Linked DNA regions of Homo sapiens: region 2 is linked to region 1. Evidence: promoter capture Hi-C in 16 types of primary human blood cells and fetal thymus (Javierre and others, 2016). All regions are on one chromosome and are shown on one strand. Each heading gives the region's core, a stretch centred on a gene start or on the middle of the fragment in contact. The rest is flanking DNA. Distances are from core to core; before and after follow the strand shown. Region 1 holds the start of TRANK1 (tetratricopeptide repeat and ankyrin repeat containing 1). Region 2 overlaps TRANK1 (tetratricopeptide repeat and ankyrin repeat containing 1).

The links. The method cuts DNA at HindIII sites, captures the fragments that hold promoters and counts their contacts. A CHiCAGO score of 5 or more calls a contact.
Region 2: a fragment that was not itself captured here is called in contact with the fragment with the promoter of TRANK1 in region 1 in 4 of 17 cell types (neutrophils, naive B cells, non-activated CD4 T cells and 1 more); the score reaches 5.9 in neutrophils.

The regions. Positions count from the first base shown.
Region 1 is chr3:36,942,754-36,947,509 of GRCh38, reverse strand. It overlaps TRANK1 (tetratricopeptide repeat and ankyrin repeat containing 1), which reads left to right and starts at 2,456. Exons shown (of 24, transcript NM_001329998.2): 1 at 2,456-2,723. The coding sequence starts at 2,701. RefSeq lists an enhancer at 2,289-2,358 and a silencer at 2,589-2,808. The HindIII fragment of the contact is 7,723 bases long and covers 1-3,566 here.
Region 2 is chr3:36,830,063-36,834,818 of GRCh38, reverse strand. It overlaps TRANK1 (tetratricopeptide repeat and ankyrin repeat containing 1), which reads left to right. Exons shown (of 24, transcript NM_001329998.2): 21 at 1-57; 22 at 900-3,946. Among named protein-coding and RNA genes, the nearest start is that of LINC02033, 9.9 kb to the right of the region's middle. The HindIII fragment of the contact is 1,989 bases long and covers 256-2,244 here.

The sequences.
Region 1 (4,756 bases), core at 1,207-3,706:
ATCTGCTTACCTGGGACTCCCAAAATACTGGGATTACAGGCATGAGCCACCACGCCTGGCTGAGGCCTGCTCTTTTAACTGTGAATGTATAACTGATAAAAATATAAAAATAGAAGACAGAGAAGAAACAGTTTTAAAAAGAAAGATAACATACTGACGTGACTTTTGAGGATTATGGTGAAGATATCCAAAGAAGATGTATGACAACAAGATTTTGAGATGCTTATGAAAACTAGTGAAAGAGTGGTCAAAGTGTAAACGGACTTTTTGGTTTTTTTAAATCCTCCTCTCTTCACCAATCCCTTGGCTTGCTCTCTTTGATGTAAGAACCTGGCTAGGCTTTCTGGAAGTAGACTCCTTGAAGTTGGCAAAAATAACAACAACAACAACAACAAAACAAAATAACCCCCCAAAACAAAAAGAAAAACAAAAAACCCCAAAACCAAAAATATCTCCGAAACCAAAAAATACCCCGCAACCAAAAAACCCCAAACCAAAACCAAACCAAACCAAAACCCAAACTGAACAAACCCAAAAATCACCAACAGAAAGAGGTATGCTAGAAGAGGTGGCATGTGCTTTCCTAAATATAGAATTGGGGGATGTTGGGAAAAGTATTGGAGGAAGGATATGGAAAGTATCCTAAAAGTGAAAGGACCAATGATGTCTGGGAAATAGCAAGTAGTCCAACTATTTGGTGGCTAGCAGTGATTCTCAAACTTTGCAGCATGTTATAGTCTTTTAAAAATCCTGATGTGGCTGGGTGTGGTGGCTTGCACCTATAATTCCAGCACTTGGGGAAGCCTAAGTGGGTGGATCACTTGAGGTCATGGGTTTGAGACCAGCCTGTCTAACATGGTGAAACCCCGCCTCTACTAAAAATCTAAAAAATTCAGCCGGGCAAGGCGGCGGGCACCTGTAATCCCAGTTACTCAGGAGGCTGAGGCAGGAGAATCACCTGAACAACAGAGTGAGACTGTCTCAAAACAAAAACAAAAACAAAAATTCCTGACGCCCATGTCAATTAGACAATTTGGGAGTAAAAGCCAAACATACGCATATTTTTGGGTTTTTTTTTTTTTTTTTGTATTTTTAGTAGAGATGGGGTTTCTCCATGTTGGTCTGGCTGGTCTCAAACTCCCGACCTCAGGTGATCCGCCTGCCTCAGGCTTCCAAAGTGCTGGGATTACGGGTGTGAGCCACCCGCCCGGCCTTGTTTTTGTTTTTAAGCTCCCCAGGTGATTCTATTGTGTAACTAAGGTTGGGAAGCACTGCAGTATAGAGTTTGCATGAGGAAGCTAAGATTGGAAATGTGGGGCAAGATTGTGAAGAAGAATCTCAAATGCCCGGGTACCTAACCTGATCTCTAGGAGACAATGGAGTGCCACTGATGGCTTTTGAACTGTACGTGATTCATCCTGATGTTTGGGGAAGATCAATGCACAGAAATCTCTGTGAGATTCTAGAAGCAAGGAGACCACTAGCTAGACTGAGACTAGTTCACAACGCAGAATGACCAGTGGAGAGAAGTATACTGTGTGCCTTAGGTGTGTCCACGTGTTACCAAAGCCTCTCTGTTTCGCTGAAATGTGTGGTCCCCCTCACTAAAGCTCTGGTGGTGTCCTCCCTGCCACCAGGCAGCCTGGTGTGGTGGTCCCCCAGAAGGATGGGCGAACCACCGGGATGCAGTGTAGGCCGAACCTTGCCCCAGGGGAGGGCGGCGGGCTTAGCTCTCTGATTGGGTGGATTCTCTGGTGTGTAGGAAAGTACTCCCAGGCCCAGAGAAGCTGTGAAGACCAAACCGGCTCCCTAGGCCGAGAACCGCTGGGGAGGTAGCAGCCAGAGGTGGTCCTCTCCGACCCACTACTCTGTCGATCATCACTGGGGAGGTGGAAAGACAAGGCAAGATCCTCATTTTGTTGCCTGCTCAGGCCTGTGCGCACTTACTCTCCATGGACACGACGGTGAGCGTGGAGCAGCCCGCGGTCTCGCTGCCCCCTTCACTCCCGGACCCCCAGCCTCCCCAGAGTGGAGGGGCAAGCACACAGTAAGTACTTGATATTCGCCCGACTCCTGAGCTCCTCATCTGTAGGAGCTAGGGGGCTTGTTCTCCGTACGTCCTTTGTTGGAGGGAGGAACGAGGGAAGGAGAAAACCCACGCTGAGGCCGTTGGCCGATCACTTTCTTTACCTCCCGGACAACATTGATGGGCCCCACTAAGGAAAGCCGAATTCTCGCATGCCCGAGGAGTGTCGGAGGTGGTTGTGCGCCTAGTCCCTCCTGGTAAAGGGTTCGAAGCACTCGTTTATTCAAAGGCGGCCGAGAGCCATACCATTTGCTTGCATGACGGGAGACACCGAAACGCCCCTTTTGAACGCGATGACAAACACCTCCTCCCACTCAGCAGCGACGTGCACGTGACAGTTTTTGGGCTCTCGCAACTACGTGGAAACTTGGAATAGGTCTGCGGCTGCACACCGCCCGGACGCCGGGGTTCCTGCGTCCCCCGCCCCCTCTGATCGCGGCTGGGTAGCCGAGCCGCAGGCAGCTGGGGGCCCCCGAACGCCGCCTCTGCATCGCGCCGCCCCTGCCCCGGGCTCCGGTAGCTTTCGGGCTTCCGCACTGCCCGCCGCGCCCTGCCCACAGGGAAGCGCTTCCCCAGGCGGCGGCGGTCCTGGTGCGGACCCTCCGGCCGCAGCCATGTGGGACCCGCGGGCAGCTAGGTGCGTAGCGGCGCGGGAAGCACTGGGGCATCTCTGGCCTTCCGGGCCCGCCACCCTTCCTGGCGGGAGGCGGCCGCGCGCGGGGACTGGCGACCCTGAGGTAGCGGCCGAACGGGCCCGCCCGGCCATCCCTGTGGGGCCCACAGCCATCTAGGTGCAGACCCGAGCCAGTTGCGCGGGGTCGGTCGCGGGGGACGGCTTCGGCCTTTTCGGTCCGGAGGGACCAGGGCACGCGCTGCGACAGGACTGCGGCGGCGCGCGGCCTGCCTAGCTCCCACCCCGGCATCGAAGCCGCAGCTCTCGGGCCCACCTCCGCATCCTCAGGGGTTCCCGGGGGCTGCCGACAGGTTCCTGACCAGCGAGCGCGCCCCCGGGGCAAGCATTCTTGGCGGGCAGAAACCTGGGAGCGGAGCACAGCGGTGCAAGGGAACCGTGCCAGGCGGGAAGGGCGGAATTTGCGGGGAACTTGGAGCGCGCTGGCCTCTTCCCGGCAGTAGGAGGCCTTCTTCCCTGCCCGCCCGATTGAGGGCTGCTGGGCTGGCTCAAACTGGACTGCACGGTCCATCAGCCTGGGCTCACCGAGTCTAGGGGGAAGGTAGTAGTAGGGACCCAAGGCTGGGAAGCGGAGCCCTTAGAAGCCCTTGCTTCTGCCTCGGAGCGTTTCCGAACCGGAGCTCGGAGTCTGTTGCCTGGGAGGCGCGTTGCGTTTCCTCCCAACTCCCTGTCTCCGTCCCGCGGGGAGCCCTGTGCACTTGCAACCCGGCTGAGATAGAGCCCATCTTTGAGGTGCAGCTCAAGCCACCTTTTCTCCCAGATCGGGGTGTTTCTGGGCAGTTGAAAGCTTTGGTGCTTCCTAGGAAAATTTTTATGGAAGTGTGCAATTTGGAAAATAAAAGAAAAAAAAATTTAAGAAGCAGAAAGAGAATGGGGCTCTGAGGTCTCTAGTTCCCCTATCTGCTCCAACCCAGTTGCTGCTGGCTCAGTTAGTCCTTATGCGGGAAGGAATAGCTGGGATTAAAGCCTTGTGTTCCCAGCGTAGGTATGCGCTCCTGCTCCCTCGTGCTGAGCGTTTTGGGTTCCAGGATCCTTTTTGATATAAGGCTGTTATCCGGATGGCATCCTGTTTGGTCCTTTATAGAAAAAAAAAAAAAGTACTACGGTGTGTGTGTGTTGGAGGGCGGGGACGGTGGTCAGGAGTTTGTTTCAACTGTTTTCCAGGCAGGTCTGTTTTGTAGGATTGCAGGATAGGTGCTTGAGTTCATATGCTCTTTGTTGGCTTTTGCATCCTCTGCGGGGGGTGGGGGGGTGGGTAGAGGTGGGATAGGTGTGTGTGGCATTCACTCCCAGAGTCGCATCCCACTGCCACTGGCCTATGTATGGGTTTCTAGGTCTTTTTTCGATCAAGACCCACACCCACCCACCTATATGTATATAATGTATATATGCATAATATGTGTGTAATATTATATATACATATATACGCACACACACATACACATGTAAAATTGCAGCAAGAGCTTCATGGTATAGTTATTCTTTCTACAGGGTGAGGCACAATGATATTTTCCATTCTATTCCCTCCCCCCACCCCCCACCAGAGGGATTCTCGCTCTGTCACCCAGGCTGGAGTGCAATGAGGCGATCTCGGCTCACTGCAGCCTCCGCCTCCTGGGTTCAAGCGATTCTCCTGCCGCAGCCTCCGAAATAGCTGGGATTACGGGGGGCCGGGGGTGGGGCGCCACCAAGCCTGACTAATTTTTGTATTTTTAGTGGAGACGGTGTTTCGCCATGTTGGCCATGCTGGTCTCAAACTCCTGATCTCAAGTGATCCACCCGCTTCTGCCTGCCAGAGTGCTGGGATTACACGCCAGAGCCACCACGCCGGCCCATTCTATGTTTTTTTTTTTTTTTTAAAGCGGGTCATAAATTGTTAACTTCACTTTATGACCGACTGACCAGCTTTATGGGGCAACTGCAGGTTCTGTTTCCGCCGCTCTCCCAGAGTATGAGGAGACCGTCAGCATTTCACAGGG
Region 2 (4,756 bases), core at 1-2,500, 110 kb after region 1:
ACTCAAAATGTACTGCCAAGAGGAGCTTTTTGAAGAAGCTGCTATTGCAGTGGAAAAGTAGGTGGTTTTATTCTCTCCCTTTCTCCCTCTCTTCCTCCCACTTCTCTCTGGGGGCAGCCTGCTCTGGGTGGTGCTATCCTGCTGCTTCTGACATGGTTTGACCACATTGCTCCCTTTCCACTTAAGCGATGGCCTCAGTGCTGGGTCAGCAGCTCTTTGAGAGCAGGACTCTATTTTCCAGTCTCTTTATAAGCTTTGATGCAGTGTCACAAAGAGAGGGGGCTGAGGGGGATGGGAGTATGTTATGAGTGTGTATATAATGACGTATTCTGACTTCCATCAGCAGAATAAAGGGGAGTCCTTCAGAGCCTCATTAATCTCACAGGAACCCAACTAATGCACACCTGCTAAAAGAGAAGAATCACAAGTTGGGTAATAAGGGGAAGACTGGTGTAATTGCTGATGCATGTGCAGCCCCCATTTCATCCTTTCTCATTTTATCAAACTGAACAGAGTTGTAGACCCAGATGATTATGATGCTTTTATGAGAACCAAAGAGATGTTTTTCAAGGATAATTTAGACTATGCATAACATTTGCCCTATAGATTGACTTTTGGATTTCACTCCCACTTGTTTGAGTTACACCTCCACTATATTTCATTAATTAAGCACACCAATTCCTGATTGAAGCATAAGGAATTTATTCATTATTATTATACTGGTAACAGTGTAAAATAAGGCCTTTGTAAAAATACTTGAATGCTTGACAAGTTTAGGTTTTATTTTGTAATATCTACATGTGGGAGTTTTATTTAAGTTGCTCTGCACTGTATTTTGGAGGAAATTTTCTATTGATTGGGTGATGGCAAGTTGACATTTGTGTCCTTTGTCTTTGCAGGTATGAAGAAATGCTAAAGACTAAGACCCTTCCCATTTCCAAGCTCTCCTATTCTGCCAGTCAGTTTTACTTGGAAGCTGCAGCAAAGTATCTGAGTGCAAATAAGATGAAGGAAATGATGGCTGTCCTCTCAAAGCTAGACATAGAAGACCAGCTGGTGTTCTTGAAGTCTCGGAAACGCTTAGCAGAAGCTGCAGACCTGCTGAACAGGGAAGGTAGGAGAGAAGAGGCTGCCCTGCTGATGAAGCAACATGGCTGCCTCCTGGAGGCTGCCAGGCTCACTGCCGACAAGGACTTCCAGGCCTCATGTCTGCTGGGGGCCGCCCGCCTCAATGTGGCCAGGGATTCCGACATAGAACACACCAAGGACATTCTGAGAGAAGCACTTGATATCTGCTATCAAACTGGCCAGTTGTCTGGCATTGCGGAGGCCCACTTCCTGCAAGGGGTAATCCTGAGAGACTTTCAGAAGCTCAGGGATGCCTTCTTCAAGTTTGACACGCTCAACCACTCAGCTGGAGTGGTGGAAGCACTCTACGAAGCAGCCAGCCAGTGTGAGGCCGAGCCTGAGAAGATTCTGGGCCTGGCTCCAGGGGGCTTGGAAATCCTCCTCAGTCTGGTCAGGGCTCTCAAAAGAGTGACCAACAATGCTGAGAAGGAAATGGTCAAATCTTGCTTTGAGTTTTTTGGGATTTCCCAGGTGGATGCCAAGTATTGCCAGATAGCTCAGAATGACCCTGGGCCCATATTAAGAATAATTTTTGACCTGGATTTGAACTTGAGAGAGAAAAAAACAAAAGATCATTTTTTGATAATGACTGACCAAGTGAAATTAGCCCTAAACAAACACCTTTTGGGCAGGCTGTGTCAGATCACACGGAGCCTGCTTGGGAAGACCTACCGAGGAGTCTGCATGAGGTTTATTGTAGGCTTAAAATGTGAGGATGAAAACTGTGAACATTTTCACAGGCCTCTGCGGCGTTGTGAAGCCAAGTGTTTAGTTCAGTCGAAAATGAACTTGGTGGCAATCAACGGGTTGCTTTTGGAAGCCAAAAAAGTATTCCCTAAAATCTTAGCAGAAGAACTTAAAGAAATTGATTATATTTTGTCTACAGATATGTATGGCCTTTGCAAGTCCATTCTGGATGTCCTTTTCCCTAAGCATTTCCATCAGAGAGTGTTGTCAGAAAACCCCATGGCATGCAAAGAAATCCTCAAACCAAATTACAAATCCTTCCGGTTCTACAGATTTGCTTTGAAGGAGTACATCCACTTTCTGTTTGAAAATGAAAGCGCACGCAACCGCCGGGAATCCACAGACCTGTGGCTGAGTGCCATGCAAGCTTTCCTTCTCTCTTCCAACTACCCGGAGGAGTTTGAAAAGCTGCTCCACCAGGAGGAGGACAACTACAACAGGGAACTCAAAGCTCTAGAGTCTGAAAAGGATGAAAGGGGCAGGGGGAGAGGCAGCAGGATAAAAGGAATAGAAGGGAAATTTGGCATGCTGGCACCCAACAGGGATGATGAAAATATGGACAAGACCCACCTGTGCTTCATCCGGCTTCTGGAGAATTGCATTGATCAATTCTACGTGTACAGGAACCCAGAAGACTACAAGAGGCTCTTTTTCCGTTTCATGAATGTCCTCATCAAGAGGTGCAAAGAACCACTCATCCCCAGCATTGGAAACACAGTAGCCCTCCTGGAGTTCCAGTTCATCCACTGTGGGGTGGTGCTGGCCCGCCTCTGGAAGAATGTCATTCTATGCCTCCCCAAGAGCTACATTGCACTCTTGCACTACTGGGAGTTCCTGTTTAGCAAGAAGGACAAGGAGCTTGGGGATGTGTTCTCCATCATTCAGGAATACAAACCCAAGGACGTGACAAGAGCCATTCAGGATTTCCGGTTCCATCTCTCCTACCTCGCCAAGGTGCTATGTGGCTATGAGAATGTGAACTTCAACGTCCTGCTTGATGCCTTCAGTGAAATAGACTATGTGGTCTCGGGTGAGGCTGAGCGGACACTGGTGCTGTGCTTGGTGATGCTAGTGAATGCTGAGGAGATCCTGCAGCCATACTGCAAGCCTCTCCTGTATCGCCACTTCCGGGAGATTGAGTCAAGGCTGCAGCTCATGAGCATGGACTGCCCTGGCCAGGTTCCCGAGAGGCTCCTGAAGGTGGTGAAGCGGGTCTTGGTGGCAGTCAATGTGAAGTCTGTGGCTGAGGCACTGCAGGACCTGCTCTTTGAGCGGGATGAAGAGTACCTAATGGACTGTGACTGGCGGTGGGACCCTGTGCACACCAAAGGGTCCATAGTCCGTGGCCTCTATTATGAGGAGGTCAGACTAAACCGCCTGCTCTGTTTGGACCCTGTGGACTACTTTGCTGAACCTGAGTGTGAGTTTGGCCAGGATGAGATGGATGAACTGGCATTAGAAGACCGAGACCACGTCCTGGCCACCATTCTTTCCCAAAAGCAACGGAAGGCCTCCATACAGCGGAAGTTGAGGAGGGCATGCCTGGTGGTGTCTCTGTGCATCAGTTGGAGGAGAAGAGTGGGCACCCAGATGGAGCGTGTCAGGGAGGAGGCCAGGGAGCCCAGGGCTGGGAACTTCAAAAAGGCAGACGTGGACAGGACCCAGTGTGACCTATGTGGAGTGAAGTTTACCCGTGGCCCAGAGAACTATTTCAGCCCCAGCAAAGCGTTTGAGGGGGCAGCTTCCGAGGTGGCAGTCCTTTCCAGGGCTGAGCTGGAAAGGGAGGAGTGTCAGGAGAGGAACAGCGAGTCTTACGAGCAGCATATCCATCTAGAACACCACCAGAGGCAGCAAGTGGCCTACCAGAAATACTCAGAATTTTTCCACGAGAAGGTGGACCCGGCCATTGATGAAGGCAAGCTGGTGGTGCAGGACATCGAGCAAAGTGTATGGATCCACAGTCACGTGGGCTCCAAGGAGCACAGCCACATGCTGCAGAAGGTCCAGGAGCACATCAAGAGGGTTTCGGATATGGTGGAGGACCTCTACAGGCGGAAGGCCTGGGCTGGCGGTAAGGGTCTGCAGAGATGGGGGCCCAGGCAGAGTGAGACCTGGGCTCTGAGGACATTTCTCAGGGTTAAATTCCTTGTCGTGGCTTCTGACTTGGGGATGGTGGAATCTTGGCCTTAGAAGAAATACAAATGAGGAATATATATTCTCAAGTTATAGCGAACCTCATTGGTTGGATTACCCCTCCCCCAGTTAAAAGTTTGTCATTATCCTTGGCTTGGGATGGTTTCCCCAGGTACTCCAGAAACTTGCATGCCTCTTCCTACAGAGGGTTAAAAGCTTGTGTAGAATGAATCGCTTTCTCTCCTGGCAGTCAGAATGATTCTTGCCAGAATAATCTTCTGTGGAGAAGATACAGGGAAAATGTTTAAGGTGTTAAGAAAACTCTTTAAGGTTCTCTTGACCCATTCATCCCCTGACTAAGATCTGGAAGTGTGTAGCTGGTCTAGCTGGTCTCTTCCTTTTAGGAGGGTCTTTAAGTCATACCCAGTGTGAGCCTTTAATAGAATTCTTATGTTATTTTAGAATCAGATTTCCCGTTTTTTTTTTTTTTTAAATAGAGATGGAGTCTCACTGTGTCGCCCAGGCTGGAGTGCAGTGGCGTGATCTTGGCTCACTGCAATCTCCGCTTCCTGGGTTCAAATGATTCACCTGCCTCAGCCTCCCAAGTAGCTGGGATTACAGGTGACTATCACCATGCACAGCTAATTTTTGTATTTTTAGTAAAGATGTGGTTTCACCATGTTGGCCAGGCTGGTCTCAAACTCCTGATCCCAGGTAATCTGCCTGCCTTGGTGTCCCAAGGTGCTGG